Linked DNA regions of Homo sapiens: regions 2 and 3 are each linked to region 1. The links are contacts of gene promoters, found by promoter capture Hi-C in human tissues and cell types (Jung and others, 2019). All regions are on one chromosome and are shown on one strand. The core of a region is centred on a gene start or on the middle of the fragment in contact, and the rest is flanking DNA. Distances in the headings are between cores, read along the strand shown.

Region 1 (4,746 bases), core at 1,216-3,715:
TGCCACCACGCCTGGCTAACTTTTTGTATTTTTAGTAGAGACAGGGTTTTGCCATGTTGGCCAGGCTGGTCTTGAACTCCTGACTTCGAGTTATCTGTCTGCCTCAGCCTCCCAAAGTGCTGGGATCACAGGCATGAGCAAGGCCTTATATGTCTCAGGCCAGGAGCCTTGAAGGTTGTGGTGAGGAGTCTGAGCTTCCCCCTGTGGGCAATGGGGAGCCATAGCAGGTTCTGAGCATTGGAGGGACACGGCCAGCTTTGTGCTTTAATAAGAACCATTACTTCATCAACCTCATTTCTCCCGCTCTCCCTCTTCCTCCCTTGGTTCCAGACACACCAGCCCCTCCTTACTGCTCCTCAAAAACAGCAAGCCTCAGAGCCTTTGCATTTGCAGTGTGCTCTGCCTGGCTCACTCTTCCTCCGGTCATCTGCAAGATGCTCTCCCTCGACTCCTTCAGGGCCCTAATCAAATGTCACCTCCTTGGACAGGCCTTCACTGACCCACACAATTTATTTTTTTGAGATGGAGTCTCGCTCTGTTGCCCAGGCTGGAGTGCAGTGGCACGATCTCGGCTCACTGCAACCTCTGCCGCCCGGGTTCAAGTGATTCTCCTGCCTCAACCTCCCGAGGAGCTGGGATTACAGGCCCATGCTACCATGCCCTGATAATTTTTGTATTTTTTAGTAGAGACAGGGTTTCGCCATGTTGGCAAGGCTGGTCTCGAACTCCTGACCTCAGGTGATCCGCCCGTCTTGGCCTCCTCAAGTGCTGGGATAACAGGCGTGAGCCACCGCACCTGGTTGGACCCCCACTATTTCATGTGTTCCCTAGCCCTCTTAGCCTCCCTTATTTTTCACCTGAGTCCTTAGCTTCAGTTTATCACTTTTTCTGTTTCTTGTCCACTCTCCTAGAATGAGAGCATCCTGGGTATCTAATGGAGGCTGAGAGCAGTGTTTTGTGACTGTAGCTAAGTGGCTTTGGCAAGTATCTTCCTCAGGCAGGGAGGTTTAGTTGCAGGATAAGAGGGTCTCAGGAGGGCTGGGCACGGTGGTTCATGCCTGCAATCCTAGCACTTTGGGAGGCTGAGATGGGCGGATCACTTGAGGTCGAGTTTGAGACTAGCCTGGGCAACATGGTGAAATCTTGCCTCTACTAAAAATACAAAAATTAGCTGGGTGAAGTGGAGCGCGCCTGTAACCCCAACTACTCGGGAGGCTGAAGCAGAAGAATCACTTGAACTTGGGAAGGAGAGGTTGCCCTAAGCCAAGACCACGCCACTGTGCTCCAGCCTGGGTGACAGGGTGAGACTATGTCTGGGGGAAAAAAAAAGCAAGAGGGCTTGGGGAGCCAAATCACGTGTTCTGGAATCCTGACTCTGCCATATCCTAGCTGTGTAGTTTTGGGTAAGCGACCCAACTTCTCTGTGTCTCGGTCTCCTCCTCTGTAAAGTAGGATGAGCTGATGTGCTCATCTCCGGTGAGAATTAGGTGAGTGTGTGCAGTGCCAGCACATGTCTGGGAAGTGAATGCTAGCTGTTGTTGGCATTGATTCCGACTCAGCTGAATTAGAGTCACTGGTTTTCCATGAGGGATGATCCCTTGTCTGACTGACTGAGGCAGGCACTTCGGGTGGGGCCCCTCCCTGCCTGGGTCCCCCACCCGCCCCACTCCTAGCCCCTGCTCACAGGCTGAGGTCGCAATTGATGCTGGTCTGCAGCAGGTAGGCCTTGGCGTTCTGCACGGCCAGCTCCAGAGGCTCGGGCTCAGGCACCTGGGCACTGTAGTGTGGGAAGCCCAGCTCAGAGGGCAAGAACTGAAGGGCAGGGTCATCCCTTATGTAAGGCCCGTGCTGGGCACCTTCAGAGAACTGGTCTGTCTGGTAGAGGTTGAACTGGCCCAAGGGGTTGACTGGGGGCTCCTGGAAGGTGGGGTCCAGTTGCTGGAACAGGCTGCTTTGGCCCTGCTGGAGCCGCTGCAGCATTAGGCTGGTGGTGAGCTCGGCGACCTGCATCCTGCTTTCATCAGAGTAAGGCTGAGGCTGGAACTCTGAGGGAAAGCCCGTGTTCACAGATGGGTACTCCATGCCACCCAGCCGGGCTTCCTCAGCCTGGAAGACCTGGGGCATCAGCAAGTTCTCCTGTTGGGACAGGCTGCCCCTCTGTGACCAACCAGGGGCGTTTCGCTGGGCGTCTGGAGGTATCTGCTGCCTCTCCTCGGGGTCCGCTGCCAGGGCCTGAGCTTGGTCCCGACTGTGCCGCCTCTGGGAGGCCTGAGAAGTCCTCCGGCCCGGAGGCTGCTGGGCAGGGCGCTCAGGGTAGGGCGGCAGGTCTCCCATGGTTCGCCAGGAGGCACAGATCTCTAGGAGAAAGGCTTGCAGACAAGGAGGCCAAGCGAGAGCCACCTGTCGACACCGCCGGTTTCTGAGCACCGAGAGAGGGGGCCGTTACCCGTGGAGGGCGCGGGGAGCGGGCCAGGGTGGGTTCCGCGCAGGCTCTGGGCGCGCACTCCCGATCCCGCGCAGCCCCACGGTGGACGTCGCGCCAGACTCGAGACGGCACCCGCGCCCCAGGCCCGCCATCCCTTTTTTTTTTTCTTTTCAGTAACTTGCCCAAGTTCACATCTTTTATTTCTTTTTAAGGCAAAGCACCCGCAGGTCAAGCCCCGCCCCGTCCCCCAGCCCCGAGTCCCTGTCCCACCCCCTTTCCCCCTCGAGCCCCGTCAGCTGTTCCCCTTGGCCTCGGGTTCCCTGGCGTCCTCGGCAGCCGGGCTGGGAGTCTTCATAGCATCTTCTCCAACAGGTGCGAGGGTCTGGGGGCTCCGCTCCTCCTTCAAGGTCAGCCCGCCCGCTGCCGTCTCCTGGTGACCGGGGAAGGAAAGGGCAGCCGGGTGGAGGGCGCGGTCACCTCCACGCTCCCCTTCAGGCCCTGCCCCCTGATGGCCCCTCCTCCCCCACCTTCACCCCGGCCCAGATCCGGCTTCTTCCTTCGCAGCGGAGGCTGCTCTCCCTACCTTGGGTAGGGGGCCCTCGAGACTAGAGTCCAACAGCGCGGCCTCGGTCAGCCCCGAGTCGTCATCCATGCTGATGAAGATGCCCGGGGTCTCGCACTCAGGCCCCTCCTCCCGGAAATCCATGGCTTCCTCAGACGGGGGCGGGCCTGGCCGGGCCGACGGAGAGGGAGAGGGGGAGGAAGAGGAGGGGGCTCCCACTCCTCCCGGCTTCAGCTTCTGTTCCTCCTCCAGCTGCCGCTTTAAGGCCTTCTCCTGGGCCAGTCGCAGGCCGATGAGGTCCTGAGGGGGCCGGGGTGCTGGGGCCGGGGCCAAGGTCAGGGGCTCCAGATCATCCTGGGGATAGGGAGGGCCACACAGAAGCTCAGAGGTGGGTGGCTCAGAGGACGGCCGGAAAGAGAAGGAACCACCCTGAGGTGGTCTTTGAGTTCTTCACCAAGAGCATGGGGAGGAAGGGGCAGTTGTCCCCCAGACCCCCAACTCCCAGCAGGAGCATCCCCTGGGAGACGGGTGGCCCAGAGGCAGGGGTGGCCTGAGTCTCTCGGGGTCAGGAGGAGGCCATGGTGAGCCTTGCTGGCTTGGGGTAGGGGGTGGGAGTCTGGGGATCCAGATGGGTGGGCTGCAGGGCCCTCACCTCCTCCAAGGGCCCCGCAGGCGCCTCCTTGGCCTCTGGCTCCTGCTTGCCGCTGGCCTCCAAGATGGTCATGATGGAGTTAGGGATGTGAGCTTGCTGGGTGGAGAGCAGGAAGGGGGCGCTGGGGGCAGCTCTGGCACAGAGACCCCATTTGCACACCTCAGGTCCGGGGGCCCTAACCCTCCAGAACTCCCAGCAGTGCAGGGCCTTCTTGTGTCCGCCTCCATCCAGTCCCCACCAACCAGAGGGACCCAGGGGGCCGCCCACCGCACACCCTGGGTGGGGGGAAAGGGTACCTGGTGGGGGGAAGGGGTACCTGGTGGGGGGTGAAGGAGCGGACATGGGCCAGCAGGGGCTCCCGGAGCTCTGGGCACTTGTCAAAGACGGCTCCCAGCTGCTGGGGCGGCAGCTGCAGGATGACCTGGAAGCTCTGGGGCTTTGTGCGCTGGCAGCACTTGATGAAGCCCTCCCACACCTTGGGGTACTTCCACACCTGAACCAGGGAGGGAGGGAGCCGTCGGGAGAGGCACACAGGCATCCCCCCGAGCCTTGACACTGGGAGAAAGACCTTGCCAAGACCATGCCCAAATCCCACCATCCAAGATTCCTCTGGATGGGCAACAAGCAGCCCCGACCTCCCTCCAGAGGCCTTTGTCTTCCCGATCCAGGCGGCTGGACCACGAGGGCAACTTGGGAAGGGGGTGGAAGAAAACTCAGCCGCCTTTTACCAGAGCTCCCCCTGGGCCAGGCCCAGGCTAAGTGCTGCGGGAGCACCTCTCATGACATTCTCACGGCAGCCTCCAGGGGGCGAAATTACCCCTGCTAAACAGCGGAGGTCCGTGCCGGTGCCGGGACCTGTCCTGGGTCACATGTACATTCTCACCGCAGCCTCCAGGGGGCGACATTAGTCCTGCGGGGTTTGGTTTTTTTGTTCTCTTTTTTTTTTTTTTTTTTTTTTTTTTTTGAGAGATGGTCTTACTCTGCCGCCCAGGCTAGAGTGCAGTGAGTGGCGCGTTTCTTCCTCACTGCAGCCCCAAACTCCTGGGCTCAAGCAGTCCTCCTGTCTCGGCCTCCCAAAGAGTTGGCATTACAGGTGTGAACCATCAC
Region 2 (4,746 bases), core at 1,682-4,181, 440 kb after region 1:
GTCAGTCTCCCAAGTAGCCGGGATTACAGACATGCACCACCACACCCAGCTAATTTTTTTTAATTTTTATTTTTTGTATTTTTAGTAGAGATGGAGTTTCTCCATGTTGATCAGGCTGGTCTTGAACTCCCAACCTCAGGTGATCCACCCTCCTTCGGCCTCCCAAAGTGCTGGGATTACAGGTGTGAGCCACCGCGACTGGCCATCACTCAATAATTTTAAGCAGTGAAACTCATGACCAGATTTGCATTCTTCTAAAACCAGGCCCCACTCTGTGATCCTGGCGTGTCTTCCCAGACACCCGGGACTATCACAGTCACCACTGCAGCAGGGCAGCGTTTTCCAGCACACTATTATCACCTTGCTCATGTGTTTATTTACTTTGCAAAAATATTGGTTTGTTAGTGTCAGAGACAATTCCCCATGGATCTCTTGCTTTTTTGCTGGCCTGGCAGTGAGGCATTGACTGTCCTTTTGTTCCACACTCTTTTCAAGGATGTTTGTGTAGTGTACTGCCTTGGAAGACAGAGGTAAGGTTTCCCTTTAGAGCAAAGAATACTTGTTTACTGTCCTGTATAAAAATAATACTCTCTTCCTCCAGGTCATTTAGGCTCTGATAAAACCCTAATAATTTAGATTCTGGTAAAATGCTTTCTCTTAATGGCAGAGCTTGTTAAGAAGAACAGAATACTCTGGTGTGTTTCACAGCGGTTACTTTCCCCCTTCCCACTTCATGCCAGACCATGAAGGAGATTTTTCTCCCATATTCACTGTGAGAACCTGATAGGGTTCCTGGAGGTAAAACTCTTAGAAAAATGCAGAGGCTCCCCTTAGACTGGGCCCCCTGGAGTTTTTAATTCTCAGACTGCTCCGCCGTGAGCCTCCAGGAATTCATTCATTAGACTTCATGTTTTCCTGTCCTGGTACTGGTTCCCACAGGGGTTTCTGGTCATGGGTTTCTGTTGCAGTAGTTTTGATTCTCTGTATCCACCTGCCTGTCTCTCGAAATCTTAAGGGCAGTGGTTTGCTCTGTGATCCCACTCCTCTAATGGATGTAAGAATTGTTAATTTTCTCTTTGTTCAGTATTCACTTTCTGTTAAGATGCAGTGATGAGTTCCAAGCCTCTTACATGCTTGACTGGAAGCTGGGAGTCCCAGAGAACATTTCTTTAGAGATGAGGTATCACTATGTTGCCCAGGTTAGACTTGAACTCTCAGGCTCAAGTGATCCTCCCACATCAGCCTCCTGAGTATCTGGGATTATAGGCATCTGCCATAGCACCCAGCTCAAAAACCTACTTTTAATAATAATCATCCTTTGGAAGCTGAGACTTTCTTTATGACCCATCATATGATCAATTTAGCATAAATGTTTAACATAGACTTGAAAAAAATGTATGTTCTACCACTGATGAGAGAGAGATATTTATATATTTGCATATATAAAATTAGGCCAGGTGTGTTGGCTCACACCTGTAATCCCAGCACTTTGGGAGTCCGAGGTGGGCAGATCACCTGAGGTCAGGTGTTCAAGACCAGCCTGGCCAATATGGTGAAACCCAGTCTTTACTAAAAATACAAAAATTAGCTGGGTGTGGTGGTGGGCACCTGTAATCCCAGATGCTCGGGAGGCTGAGGCAGAAGAATCACTTGAACCTGGAAGGCAGAGGCTGCAGTGAGCTGAGACGGTGCCACTGCACTCCGGCCTGGGATATTGAGCGAGACTTCAACTTAAAAAAAAAAAAAATTTCTTGCATTTCTATACACTAACAATGAACAAGCCAAAAAGGAAATTAAGAAAACTACCTCATTTATAATACCATCAAAAAGAATAAAGTGCTTCAGGCCAGGCATGGTGGCTCACGCCTGTAATCCCAGCACTTTGGCAGGCTGAGGCAGGTGGATCACTTGAGGTCAGGAGTTCAAGACCAGCCTGGTCAACATGGTGAAACCCCGTCTCTACTAAAAATATGAAAATTAGCCGGGCATGGTGACGCTCGCCTGTAATCCTAGCTACTCCAGAGGCTGAGGCAAGAGAATTGCTTGAACCCAGGAGGGGGAGGTTACAGTGTGCCAAGATCATGCCACTGCACTCCAGCCTGGGCCACAGAGCAAGACTCTGTCTCAAAAAATAAAAATAAAAAAAGAATAAAATAATTCAGAATAAACTTAACCAAGAGAGCAAATGACTTGTATAGTGCAAACTACAAAACATTGTTGAAAAAAAGTAATGAAGACACAAATAAATGGAAAGACAGTCTGTGTTCATGGGTTGGAAGATTTAATATTGTAACAATGTCCATACTACCCAAAGTGATCTACAGCTTCAAAGCAATCTCTATCAAAATCTCAATGACAATTTTGCAGAAGCAGAAAAAATCCTAAAATTCGCATGGACTCTTAAGGGACCCTGAATAGACAAAATAATTTTGAAAAATAAAGAACAGGCCAGGCGCGGTGGCTCACGCCTGTAATCCCAACACTTTGGGAGGCCAAGGCAGGCGGATCACAAGGTCAGGAGATCGAGACCATCCTGGCTAACACAGCGAAACCCTGTCTTTACTAAAAAAAATACAAAAAATTAGCTGGGCATGGTGGTGGCCACATGTAGTCCCAGCTACTTGGGAGGCTGAGGCAGGAGAATGGTGTGAACCTGGAAGGCGGAGCTTGCAGTGAGCCGAGATCGCGCCACTGCACTCCAACCTGGGCAACAGAGCGAGACTCCATCTCAAAAAAAAAAAAAAAAAAATGAAGTTGGACCCTTATCTCTAACCATACACAAGAATTAGTTCAAAAAACTAATGAGATCCAAGGCCTAAATGCAAAAGTTAAAACTATAAAGCTCTTAGAAGAATACATAGGGAGAAAGCTTCCTGACATTGGACTTGGCAGATTTCTTGGATGTGACACCAAAAGTCCAGGCAAAATAGTAAACACCAATAAATTGAACTCCATCAAAGTCAGAAAGAAGAACAAACTTCAGGGCCATGTGTTGTGGGCATTTACCATGCCCTACAGGAATAGCCACAAACTTGATGATTCACTTTTAGGCAACAGATCTGGTTCCTTGGTTAACCAGTCCGGTTTCTTTAGCTTCCTTCCTTCCTGGAGGTTTTCCTATTCCGTTGTTAAGTGGGGCCAATGCCAAAAAGAAATTAGGGCAATCCCTGCTAGAGTATCTATCACCTTAATAGATTTCCTACTCCTACCAATTACTCAGGACGCAGATTCTTTGAGAAAGTTTCTCCTCCTTCCGAGACAAAATTTTACACATTAATATGTCTTATGCTACTTGCTGTTGCACATATCACTAATTGAAATGATACATTAATTTGCATAATTTGCTCATTTCTGTGCCTTCTTCTCTAGGCCGTGAGCTCCAGGGTGAAAGACTGAAGGCTCTTCCTCCAAGATCAGGAACAAGACAAAGAGACCTGCTTCTACCACTGCTATTTAACATTGTACTGGAGGTGCTAGCCAGAACCTTTAGAAAAAAAAAAAGAAAAGAAAAGAATTAAAAGCATCCAGAGAGAAAAGGAGGAGGAAGAAGAGGAGGAGGAGGTGAAACTGATGATAAAAACCCATCCAAGAATGTAAATGTGACATCTGCAGCAGGTTCAAATCTAAGCTATAAGACAAACGGAATCCTTCGTAAGGACTGTCATCTATTATGCACAGAGAGCCGAAATCCATTACTGAAATTCTCTTGGTGAGCCACCTGATGGGCCCAGTGACGTACTAGTACACACAGGAGTTGAAACAAAAAAAAGTCTGGCATATTCTTTGGATGACTGGCAGAGTGTGACACCAATATGGTACCCAGCCCTACTATCATTACAAGGACTTCATGACCAAAAAAATAATAGAGAATTGTTTTGGTGGTTAAAACAATTAAAAGCATCCAAATTGGAAAGGAAGAGGTAAAAGCATCTCTATTCACAGAAACATAATCTTATTTATAGAAAACACTAAACCTTCCACACACACACACCCCAAATAAAACACCTGTTAGAATTAACAAACAAGGCCGGGCGCAGTGGCTCACGCCTGTAATCCCAGCACTTTGAGAGGTCGAGGTGAGTGAATCACCTGAGGTCAGGAGTTCAAGACCAGTCTGGCCAACATGGCAAAACCCCGTCTCTACTATATACAAAAAATTAGCGGGGTGTGGTGGTACGCACCTGTAATCAAAGCTACTCAGGAGATGAAGGCAGGAGGATCGCTTGAACCTGGGAGACAGAGGTTGCAGTGAGCCGAGATTGCACCACTGCACTCCAGCCTGGGCGACAGAGTGAGGGTCTGTCTCAGAAAAAAAAAGAATTAACAAAAAATTCAGCAAAGTTGCAAAGTGTGAAATTGACACTCAAAACTCTATTGCATTTCTACACACTAACAAACCATGGGCAACACAGTGACCTCACCCTGTGTCACAGGGCCAGGTACACAGAGGTACTGAGTAAACATTTTAGTTTTCATTAAGTGGATAAATAAAACCAAAACCTATTATTTACCACTCTCCTTTAACACCTCTCTAAAAGCAGAAAGAGATACCTCCATGAGGGACTTTGTGACACTTTGGGCAAAACTAATGCTGGCACTAGTTTGGATGCATCAGCGAATGCTGGACTTCTCACGTTGAGGATTCTCCAGGTGCCCTCCTTGGGCTCATTTCTTCCATGGAGATAAAAGAGAACAGGGTTTTTTGGGGTTTTGGTTTTGGGTGTTTTTTTTTTCCAGAGACAAGGT
Region 3 (4,746 bases), core at 638-3,137, 320 kb after region 1:
GTGTTCTATCTATTTTATTAATTTTTTTCAAAAAACCAACTCTTGGATTTGTTGATCTTTTGTGTGTGTGTGTGTGTGTGTGTGTGTGTGTGTGTGTGTGTGTGTCTCTGTCTCCTTCAGTTCAGTTTTGATTTTGATTATTTCTTGTCTTCTGCCGGCTTTGGGGTTTGTTTGCTCTGGGTTCTCTAGTTCTTTTAGTTGTGATGTTAGGTTGTGAAGCTGAGTTCTGACTCTCTGAAGTGGGCAATTAGTACTATAAATTTCCCTCTTACTCCTGCCTTAGCTGTGTTCCAGAGATTCTGGTATATTGTATCTTTGTTCTCATTGGTTTCAAATAGCTTCTTGATTTCTGCCTCAATTTCATTATTTACCCCAAAGTCATTCAGGGGCAGGTTATTCAATTTCCATGTAATTGTATGGTTTTGAGCAAATTCCTTAGTCTTGATTTCTAATTTGATTGTGCTATGGTCTGAGAGAGTGGTTGTTATGATTTCGGTTCTTTTGTGTTTGCTGAGGAGTGTTTCGTGTCTGATTATGTGGTCGATTTTTCAATGTGTGCCATGTGGTGGTGAGAAGAATGTATATTCTATTGCTTTTGTGTGGAGAGTTCTGCAGATGTCTATCAGGCCCATTTGATCCAGTGCTGAGTTCAGGTCCTGAATATCTTTGTTAATTTTCTGACCTGATGATCTGTCTAATACTGTCAGTGAGGTATTGAAGTTTCCCACTATTATTGTATGGATGTCTAGATCTCTTTGAAGGTCTCAAAGAGCTTGCTCTCTGAATCTGGGTGCTCTTGTGTTGGGTGCATATGTATTTAGGATAGTTAGGCCTTCTTGTTGAATTGAACCCTTTACTATTACATAATACCCTTCTTTGTCTTTTTTTATCTTTGTTGGTTTAAAGTCATCTGAGATTAGGATTGCAACTCCTGCTTTTTTCTGTTTTCCATTTGCTTGGTAGATTTTCCTCCATCCCTTTATTTTGAGCCTGTGGGTGTAATTGCATGTGAGATGGACTGCATGCAGTTTCAAGGGTTCAGGTTCACTGTTTATTTAAACCAAATACTACAGGGTATGATCTCCTGAACTAAGTGGGTGAAGTACACGTTTCCTATGAAACAGCCTTTTTCATTATCTCACAGGGCAATAACTTCTTTAGAGTTTTGATAAATATTTTAGTTCCCCCAGCAAGCATCAGATGATGAGTTAAAGAACATACCATGTTATTTAAAATATGGCATTTGTTTGTCTACATGCTGTTTATTGAGGTTCTTGGAAGCACCTTTTCATTATGTTTATAAACTGGTTACTTGCAAGTGGTTGCTTGCCAGTTTAAACTAGCTTAAGCTGTGGCAAAAAGAGGAATTTATTATCTTTGGTAGGTTCCAAATTAAAAAATAAAGTGAGCAAGAACTAAGATTAGAAGAAATTTATGAGCTTGGATGAAGGTTCCCAGTATTTCTCATTATTTTTATGTTTAATGATGTATAGTTCCTTTTCTGTAAATGATACACTATTCAGAATAATTGTTTTGGGTTGTTTGCTTCCTTCTTATTAATTTATAAATGCTCTTTTTATATGGGAGATACTAACCTTTTGTCTGTTATATGTTTTCCTCGCCTTTGTGTTTGTTTCTCAGTAATGCTGGTGGAGTCTTCTTTTTTGAGATATTTTAAATTTTTATGCAGCAGTGTCTTTTACCACTGCCCTACATCTTCTTTCCACTTTTTGGCTTCCGCTTACGTAAGGAGGCCATCTCCAACTTAAAGTTCTATGAATAGTTCTATATTTTTACTTTCTTTTTAGTCATTTTTATTCACATATAACTTTTTCTATAAGATGTGATGCTGAGTCTAAGTTAATTTTCTTGCTAATGAATGTCCTATTGAATCTGAAATTACTTGTTGACTAGTTTCATCCCTTTTCTTCTAATGTACAATGTTACTTTTCTTATATCTCAGTTTTCCATTATTAGCTTTATCTGTTGATGGACTCTGTTCAATTGATTTATGTGTAATTTTTCTAGGTAGTGTCTGGTTCATTTACAGTAGCTTTGTTTTAAATTTTAATAATAGACAAAAACTTCTCTCCTTATTACACTACATTAAGCTTTACTCGACAATATTTGTGCAGTCAGCTTTAAGAGCTCCCAAGTAATTTTCTAAACCCTCCTCCTAAAAAATAGCAAAATTTAAAAATGGGAATTCAGATGAAATTTTTTTGTAAACATTGTTTGGCTTTGGAAAGCATGAGCATTCTAATGTTTTAATACTTTCTGTCTCAGAGGTTTATCGACTTCTTTTTTTATTAGGTCTAGTTTGCTGTCAACACCCATTTAATTTTACGTAAACATGCTCTTCGAGGCTGAAGCGAATATGACTGATTTTCAGTGTGAAAATAAAACATAAAAACCCCTTCTTGGCTCATGCCTGTAATCGCAGCACTTTGGGTGGCTGAAGCAGGCAGATCACTTGAGGCCAGGAGTTTAAGACCAGCCTGGCTAATATGGTGAAACCCTGTCTCTACTAAAAATACAAAAGTTAGCCGGGCATGGTGGCCTATGCTTGTAGTCTCAGCTACTCGGGAGGCTGAAGTGGGAGAGTCGCTTGAACCCAGGAGGTGGAGGTTGCAGTGAGCCAATATTATGCTACTGCACTCCAGCCTGGGGAGCAGAGCGAGACTCCCTCTCAAACAACAACAACAAAAACAAAACTGTTCTTGGAGTTGTTTCTAAACAGAACTTGTCTCTAGTATTAACGTAGCAGAAATGTATATGATTTTACATTAGTATTAAAGATAAGAATATTCTTGGCCAACAGGAAATGGGTTAAAGCCTTGCAGAGGAGGGAAACAGTGAATTTTGTCATTCACTTAACCAGTTTTCACACACACACAGAGAAAGTCCAGAAGCCTGGCTGGTAAGAAATTCTTACCCTTTTGCTGGCATGCTACGGTTTTGGGTTCTCTTTTTCTGAGCAACTTTGGTGACCTTGCTCCCTGTGGCATAGCTGTGGGGGCCAAGCCACGTTACAAAAGAAAATGATCCCTTTCCATTTCATGGAACCATAGGCAAAAGTCTCTCCTTTTTACAAGAGGCCAACCAGTGGGTTGCATGGGAAAATAAGATATTGAATTAAATGCACAGAAAGAAAACAATTCATTGGGACATAAGTGACACAAACTTTGGTTCCACGTGCTGTCAGTTCTCTCCTTAAAAAGCCAGCACCCAAAGTTGATAGACTCACACACCCAAACAGACAGATGACAGAAAAGTCCACAGGCTTCCCCTCCTCACATGGTGTGGCAAAGAGAAAGTGAAGTGGTGAGGGGTTTTGAATAGAGTTACAGGATTGAGGGCCAGTATGACAGAGAAGGGGAGAGAGAAGGAGAGGAAGAGGGAGGGAAAACGATAGAGGGAGAGAGGGAGGGAGAGGGAGAGGAAAGAAGAAGAAAGGGAAGGAGGGAGAAAGGGAGGGAGAGGGAGAGGAAAGAAGAAGAAAGGGAAGGAGGGAGAAAGGGAGGGAGGGATGGATAGAATTGTTTCTTGGGACTGGAACCCAAACCAACTTAGGCCAGGGAAAAGGTACACTCTGTCCCACTGCCTGCTGAGTTGATCAGATCCAGGTAGTCAACGATTTCAACCTGTCCCTCACAGATATCTGTTCACGTGACCCAAACCACTAAGGATTAGGAGAGGAGAGACAAGGCACCCTAAGTGACAGAAAAGTTAGGAAGTGAAAAGGAGAGAAAGCAAGAAGGGAAGGGAGAAAAGCATTGCCTGCAGGAGGGATGGGGGAGGCAAGGAGGGCTGGCAGGCTGGAGAAAGACTCAACCAGCTTGGCGACACTGAATCAGAAGTTCAGGCAGCTGCTTGTCAGCCGTGAAGGGATCTTGTCCAGCAGTCCCATCAGCTCACAAGTCTCCCCCTCAGGGAGAGAAAGGCTCCCCACATCCCATTGTTGGGAATGGGTGCTCGGTGTCACAAAAATCAACACTGAGACAAAGGATCTCTCAGCAAGGCTAGTTTACTTTCTGCAGAAAGAGGGCCGCTTGCTAGCAGTCTTGCCATGAGAGCACACACGAACAAAGGAGACAGGGTCATTTATAACCTGATATGCCACCCTACTGCTGTGTCTGGCTTCCGTTGGCTGGAATGGGACCTCACATTCTGTACTTGACCTGATTGGCTAGCAACTTAGAACTTCCCCAAAGAGGCAAAGGCAGAGGAGAACAAAGGAAGACAGGAAGTAACTTGTGGAATGCTGAGAGAGGCAAAAGCACTTCCAAATAAGGAAGAGGAATAGGCTATGACCTAATGCTTGCTTGGGCCTGTTCAGGCATGCCAGGGCAAATATCTAGGCTAAAATGCGGTAGCTAAGAACGCAGAGTATATTGATTTCTTTATTATGGCTAGCAGATATTTAAGAATATTAGCACAGGTCTTTGAGTAAATTTTGCTTCTAAGAGAGGTTACTATCTATTCTCAATTAGACTGGGAGGAAAGTCCCTCTGAAGAGGAACCTCTACTTATTTTATTTTCTACACCATGATCCCAGGCAAGCCCCTAAATAATACATTACTGGTCTTGGGTTCTTGGGCTCTCAATGCAATAGAAACTGACATGAGGTCAAAATAGTTTTCCCAGACAAAACTTCATTGGAGATTATTCCTGGAAATAAGAGAGGCAGCACAAAAGAGAAAGAATTCCCTGATGACTCCCTGAAAAGAGCTGGTAGGGCTTTTT

The links. The method cuts DNA at HindIII sites, captures the fragments that hold promoters and counts their contacts. A contact is called where the count stands out against the background at its distance.
Region 2: a contact is called between a fragment that was not itself captured here and the fragment with the promoter of RSPH6A in region 1, in 1 of the 25 tissues and cell types used here (aorta).
Region 3: a fragment that was not itself captured here is called in contact with the fragment with the promoter of RSPH6A in region 1 in 2 of the 25 tissues and cell types used here (dorsolateral prefrontal cortex and liver).

The regions. Positions count from the first base shown.
Region 1 is chr19:45,812,843-45,817,588 of GRCh38, forward strand. It overlaps RSPH6A (radial spoke head 6 homolog A), which reads right to left and starts at 2,466. Exons shown (of 6, transcript NM_030785.4): 1 at 1,685-2,466. The coding sequence starts at 2,334. SYMPK (symplekin scaffold protein) reads right to left here. Exons shown (of 27, transcript NM_004819.3): 24 at 3,956-4,132; 25 at 3,640-3,735; 26 at 3,009-3,341; 27 at 2,568-2,855. The coding sequence ends at 2,718. RefSeq lists an enhancer at 4,140-4,209 and a silencer at 4,370-4,459. The HindIII fragment of the contact is 35,300 bases long and covers 1-4,746 here.
Region 2 is chr19:46,251,920-46,256,665 of GRCh38, forward strand. No RefSeq gene overlaps it. Among named protein-coding and RNA genes, the nearest start is that of IGFL1, 25 kb to the left of the region's middle. The HindIII fragment of the contact is 4,943 bases long and covers 461-4,746 here.
Region 3 is chr19:46,129,248-46,133,993 of GRCh38, forward strand. It overlaps a transcript of IGFL2 not described here. Among named protein-coding and RNA genes, the nearest start is that of IGFL3, 6.9 kb to the left of the region's middle. RefSeq lists enhancers at 3,561-4,392, 4,393-4,746. The HindIII fragment of the contact is 6,419 bases long and covers 1-4,746 here.